2 separate regions of the Homo sapiens genome follow, and region 2 is linked to region 1. Evidence: promoter capture Hi-C in 16 types of primary human blood cells and fetal thymus (Javierre and others, 2016). All regions are on one chromosome and are shown on one strand. Each heading gives the region's core, a stretch centred on a gene start or on the middle of the fragment in contact. The rest is flanking DNA. Distances are from core to core; before and after follow the strand shown. Region 1 holds the start of AXDND1 (axonemal dynein light chain domain containing 1). Region 2 overlaps ABL2 (ABL proto-oncogene 2, non-receptor tyrosine kinase).

What was found. The method cuts DNA at HindIII sites, captures the fragments that hold promoters and counts their contacts. A CHiCAGO score of 5 or more calls a contact.
Region 2: a contact is called between a fragment that was not itself captured here and the fragment with the promoter of AXDND1 in region 1, in 9 of 17 cell types (naive CD4 T cells, activated CD4 T cells, total CD8 T cells and 6 more). The highest score is 11.7, in naive CD4 T cells.

Annotation. Positions count from the first base shown.
Region 1 is chr1:179,364,341-179,367,555 of GRCh38, forward strand. It overlaps AXDND1 (axonemal dynein light chain domain containing 1), which reads left to right and starts at 1,631. Exons shown (of 26, transcript NM_144696.6): 1 at 1,631-1,660; 2 at 2,064-2,266. The coding sequence starts at 2,170. RefSeq lists enhancers at 1,182-1,581, 1,962-2,031. The HindIII fragment of the contact is 9,843 bases long and covers 1-3,215 here.
Region 2 is chr1:179,102,567-179,105,781 of GRCh38, forward strand. ABL2 (ABL proto-oncogene 2, non-receptor tyrosine kinase) reads right to left here. Exons shown (of 12, transcript NM_007314.4): 12 at 1-3,215. Among named protein-coding and RNA genes, the nearest start is that of TOR3A, 22 kb to the left of the region's middle. The HindIII fragment of the contact is 4,193 bases long and covers 1-3,215 here.

The sequences.
Region 1 (3,215 bases), core at 381-2,880:
CCCAGCTACTAGGGAGGCTGAGGCAGGAGAATCGCTTGAACCTGGGAGGCGGAGGTTGCGGTGAGCCGAGATCGAGCCATTGCACTCCAGCCTGGGCAACAAGAGTGAAACTCCGTCTCAAAAAAGAAAAGAAAAGAAATGATCCCTCACCGAACCGAGCCTCAGTTCAGTGCGAAGGCTCTGATGATACTCTTTTTTTTTTTGAGACGGAGTCTCGTTCTGTTGCCCAGGCTGGAGTGCGGTGGCGCCATCTCGGCTCACCGCAACCCTTTCCTCCCCGGTTCAAGCGAATCTCCTGCTTCAACCTCCTGAGTAGCTGGGATTACAGGCGCGCGCCACCTCTCTTGGCTAATTTTTGTGTTTTTAGTAGAGACGGGGTTTCACCATGTTGGTCAGGCTGGTCTCGAACTCCTGACCTCGTGATCCACCCGCCTCGGCCTAAGAAAGTGCTGGGATTACAGGCGTGAGCCACCGGCCGCTGATGGTATTCTTTCCTGAGGGCAGATTTTCACGCCAGAAGCCCCGACAATTATACCTGAGCTGGTTCCACCTAAGCTCAATCCTCCTTCCCTGCCCCAAGGGGGTGAAAAATCTGGGCCCAGGAGGCCTTCCTTGTGCTCTGGGGGGAGGCATTTAAGGGTCCAAGGAAGACGTGACCGAAATGTAAAGCACTGGACGGCTTACCCAATAAGGGACCCAGCGTTTCTTATTACCCAACATCCCCCTGAGTCTGGCTTTTAGAAAAATATGCAAAGCGTCCGGGCGCAGTGGCTCACGCCTATGATCCCAGCACTTTGGAAGGCCGAGGCGGGCGCGGTCAGGAGTTTGAGACCAGCCTGGCCAATATGGTGAAACCCCGTCTCTACTAAAAATACAAAAATTAGCCGGGCATGGTGGCCCCCGCCTGTAGTCCCTCGGGAGGCTGAGGCAGGAGAATCGCTTGAACCTGGGAGGCGGAGGTGGCAGTGAGCTGAGATCGCACCATTGCACTCCAGCCAGCGCGACAGAACGAGACTCCGTCTCAAACAAAACAAAACAAAAAACAAACTACAAAATTAGCCGGGCATGGTGGCGTCTGCCTGTAGTCCCAGCTGCTTGGGAGGCTGAGGCAGGAGAATTGCTTGAACCCAGGAGGTGGAGGTTGCAGTGAGCCGAGATCGCACCATTAAACTCCAGCCTGGGCGACAAGAGGGAAATTCCGTCTCAGGGGAAAAAAAGAGAAAGAAAGAAAAAGAGGAAGAAAGAGAAAGAAAAATATGCAAAGCAACAAAAAAGAGAGCTAGAAAGATGGAAACAACTCAGAAGACCCTTGCTTAACCCGCGTGCGTCACGGGCTACAGGGGTCGGCCCCTCGAGCTAACCCCCACCGGCGCCTGCGCACTGGCCTGGCCCGCGGCAGGAAGCCCCGGCGTGAGACACTTTCGGATTCCGTGACAACGGCGGGATTAAACGTTTTTCTTCTCCTTTGCTACTGAACCTATGCTGTGACTTAGAACATAAGAAACTCCAAGAGGGTGTAGGGATTGTCTTAGCTGTCTCCCTCCTCCGCCGGCACCGCTGAAGGCAGCCCCTATGGAGGGCGCTAAACCTCGGGGCCCTGGGTTTCTATGACGACAAACAGGCGTTCCAGCAAAGGAGGAAGTGAGCGGATGCTGGGCGGGTACGCAATGTGTGGGTAGGATCGCGGGTGTCCCTTTCCCGTCATTTTAAACCAAGAAGCAGTGCGAGGCCTGCCCAACTCGCGAGTTTGTGGAACTGGCGCGCGAGAGCGCTGCCTGTGGGGAAGGTATGGTCCCCAGCCGAGCCGCCTGCAGCGAGTGTCCCCCACCAGGGGTGCCGGCGGTCTGCGGGGTCCGCCGAGCGGGTCCTTCCTGCCCTGCTCCTTGACCCCGACCTGACGGTCCACTAAGGCTTCTTAGTCGCTACACATAACCCCAGAACATAGAGGTCGCCCCGAAGAAGGAGAACCATGCTAGATGAATTCTAAACTGCGATCTGAACCTAAGTACTCAATAGTTGTCATCTTTTTTTTTTTTTTTAAATCTTTTTTCCTCTGCCTGCAGGACTATGTGGCAGCCTGCAAGTCCCAGTGCGGCGCTGATTTGTGTCTAAATTAGCTTTCCGGAGGACTATTTCAAATTACTAAAGAGATAGGAGGCATTGTTTATTATGTCTCTCCCGAAAACGCCCTCCACCCCGCTAAACTCTACATCAACATCTGAGAGCAAAAAGTTAAAAGTGTCTGTAGCCAAGGAAGGGACAAGAGGTAAACTTCGTTGATTCTGAAGTCATAAACAGTCATGGCCGTAAGACAGAAATCACCTTCCATTCACCGGTTTTTTAAATCTGATATTCAGAATACCTTGATTGGCTACATTTTTCTAACACACTTGCTTAAATAAAGCAAGAAGTCATTCCTTTTACAGTATTTTGAGTCAGAGTACTGTTTCACTACTCCATCTAAATACAGTTTATACTTTTTTTCAAATGTTGATTTATATATGATTTTAAATTCAACCTATTTTAAATATCAATAGTTACGTATTTTTTGGTTCCTGGTCTTTGGCTTTAAGGAACTTTGGAAAAAGTAATAGTGAGGCAGGGCGCGGTGGCTCACGCCTGTAATCCCAGCACTTTGGGAGGCCGAGGTGGGCGGATCACTTGAGGTCAGGAGTTCGAGACCAGCCTGGCCAAATATGATGAAATCCCGTCTCTACTAGAAATACAAAAATTAGCCGGGCATGGTGGCTCGCGCCTGTAGTCCCAGCTTACTCTGGAGGCTGAGGCAAGAGAATCGCTTGAACCCAGGAGGTGAGGTTGCAGTGAGCCAGGATCGAGCCATTGCATTCCAGTCTGGGAGACAAGAGCAAGACCCCATCTCAAAATAAATAAATAAATAGGCCGGGCACAGTGGCTCACACCTGTAATCCCATTTGGGAGGCTGAGGCTGGCGGATCACGAGGTCAAGAGATTGAGACCATTCTGGCCAACATGGAGAAACTCTGTCTACTAAAAATACAAAAATTAGGGGGGGCGTGGTGGCTCGTGCCTGTAGTCCCAGCTACTCAGGAGGCTGAGGCAGGAGAATCGCTTGAACCCGGGAGGTGGAGGTTGCAGTGAGCCGAGATTGCGCCACTGCACTCCAGCCTGGCGACAGAACGAGACTCCGTCTCAAATCACGAGGTCAGGAGTTTGAGACCAGCCTGACCAACGTG
Region 2 (3,215 bases), core at 258-2,757, 260 kb before region 1:
TAGGGCACAGAGATGAACCCCAAATCCAGGTGGAACAATTTAATGCAAGATGATGAAACTCAAAAATCAAGAACAAAAATATAGATAACCCTGTCAACCCAATATGAACTCCTGGTAGGGGCACAGCCTGATAACAAGAATGACATCAGTAGCAAAATGGAAGGGAGCAGAAGGGGTCATAATGAAATGTAGCTATAATTCAGAAGTGGCCACCAAGGCAATTTACTTTTGAGTATTTTATAATAGGTGAATTAAATTCAGCTATTCTTTTTAGAAAAAGAAAAAAAAGATGACAAATGTCAATGTCATTTATAACTGGTAGGAAATCCTAGAAAAGTAATTCCCAAAGTGCACTGGTTTTATGGCCATCCACCTCCCCCTGTAAACCTAACAAAACTATGCAGGACATAGGTTAAAAAAGACACTGTCAACATCAACAGATAACAAGTCTGTTCCCACCACATTTAGGATAAATGGCCAAGCATATAGTGGATAAATGGAGAAGAGTAAGAGGACCTCATCCTTCTTGAGTCAAGGTCCTTGGAAGAGCTTCTGTGTTCTGGAGTGAGTACACATTCTTACTTTTTAAAGATCGGAATTAAACCAAAAAGTTGGTCCCTAGTTTCCTGAAGTAATTCAGCTCTGAACTACAACTTTAGCAAACACTTGCTATACCTGCTCATACCTGTTAAGCAGTTTCATATTTCTAAATGTGATAAATGACAGAGGTGATTCTTACGTATCTACATTTTCAGGTACCCCACAGGGTCCATCCACATTGAATCAACTGTCTTATCTTTTAAACAGACAATACTACAACCTTATAGTTATATTACAGTTGATATTTTCTCAAAGTGCTGTCATATACATTATCTCATAGTCATTAAAATAATGTGAACAATAAAGTTTTTTTAAAGAAAAGGGAATGTAGGACTAACTAGGTTTTTTAAAAACTCAAGTTGGTATTTCTTTACTACAAAGTGCACATTGCTGTGTTGCTGAGGTCTGTCCAAAAGAATGACCCCATTGAATTTTTTAAATGACTGAATTCTACTGAGTGCTTGCTTGGCTTGTGTTCCCATTACTCCACATTCAAGCCCCTTAAGGTCAAAGTGTCAGGAGCATGTGCTTTAGAAAGTGTGCAGCACCACACAGGCTGATTGTCGGTCTGAGCCACTTTTTTGCAGTGTCTCACATGGCAGCAGGTATGGTGGAAAGACCCCACAACCATAAAGTCAAGAGACTTGAATTCTAGCCTTGGCTCCGCCACTAATTAACCGTTCTGAGACAATAGGCAAGTAATTTAACCATCTTCTGCTAGTTTCTTAATCTATAAACCAAAGGGTTGGGGTACTGATAGTTTTCAGATAGCACTGGGTGTTTCAAACACCTGGCGAGATTACTGGAGAATACACTGGCCGAGACCCCAGCCCACTGGGAATTCTGATCTGGAGTGGGGCTATTCCGTCAGTTTTTTTTGTTTGTTTTGTTTTGTTTTTTAACCCTAGGGGATTCTGCTGTGCATCCCTAGACTAGGTGTTAATAATAGTAGTAGTAGAACATTTATAGAGTGTGCTCATTGTGTGCCAGGCACTTGAGCTAAGTATCTTACAAATATCATCTCATTTAATCCTTACAACAACCCTGAGGTAGTTACTATTATTATCCCTGTTTTACAGTGAGGAAACTGAGGCTCCCAAGGTTAAATGACTTGCCTTTTAGACTGGCATTAGAGCCTAAACACTAAACCACTATCTATACTGCATCCTTTAAACTCAAAATCTCCATGACTTTAGTTAAATAAAAATGGGCAGTGCCTTAGCAAAGTCAGCATGCTTTATTACCTGGGACATATTTTACTAGCCAATTTTCAGTTGAATCCTAAGAAACTTTCTATCTAATTTAAATCTTAAAATGCTGCTGGTAAAGGGTCTCCACTATAATGACCTCTATGTACAGAGGTCATCTAGAAAAACACTGAATGAATTTCTTAGGGCCAAATTTTTTAAGGCTAATCTCTGAAAATCATGATGGAAGTCTACAGGAAAATATATACATTTAAATTTTACACAAAGCCTTTTAAGAAAATACTTTAGGTAAAGCACAATCAAGATGTATTCAACACAAATCACTGCATTTTAAAGTGGGAAATCTAAACTGAAGTAATATTATCTGTACATGAAAGGAATCAAGCAGTGGCAGCCCAAAGGCATGCATCCAGATATACAGCATAACCACTTTAGAAAACTGTCAACGCCTTGGACAAGGGCCTTTGCTCATTGCTTTTAGAATAGTTAAAATTAAACTACACTTTTCCAGAAGCAGTTCTCTCTGCTTTGGATTCAAACCTTTTAATTTACATAAGGGTTTGTGTTTAAGCTGGTCCTTTTCAAGTAGAAAAAGGAAAAACCTAAATTATGCTTGTATAGTAAGTTGACAGTGCCTCTTTAACCTGAACCTTGAGCCCTCAACCCCTGAAGTTACATAGTTCAAGCATCATGTGGACGGGGTATGCTCCAATAGTCAATGCCACTCTTGACAGTGTTGACAAAAATCAATTCCATTTATATATCGTGCACCCACTGTAGGCAAGACAGCTAGGTGCTGCCCCTGAGTAAGACACAGCCCCCACCCCCTACCCTTCAGATTGTTGTTGGGCAAGAAAACCAGGGAGCCTAAATACACTCAGTAGTGTTTCTCCAAGGCTTAGTTCCAGAACTCTCAAGGGAAAATAGAGCCCTTGCTTAAAAAACAAAAAACAAAAAAACCCTGAAAAACAATTACAATCCCTTAACTTGCATCCCACAACAACAGGGATAAACCTAAAAAGCAGCATAATAATATTCTACAGTTTTAGCTTTCCCATCCTCGACCTTAAAAGGCTAGCTGCTAAAACGAGTTCTTCAAGTTTACGGACATGTATGATGAGCAAGAATGGCAGGAAAGAAGGTGGGAGAAGGACCGCTGGTTTTTACATCTGAGTTCTCTTCCAACCACTAGGAGGAGATGAACCCAATCACTAGCTGCCTGTGCTGCAACTGCAGGTGACATACTGCGGGGATCACCCAACACCTGCCAGGAATGCCCAGCACCGCGTGTCTCCTCTAATCCTCTTAACCTGGGCCTCCTTTGGAGCAGCAATGGTAAGAATCAAGGTTTCCTTTCTTTCCAATGAAAACTCAATTTTGTTCTTGGTCAAAAATGCCAAACTCTAT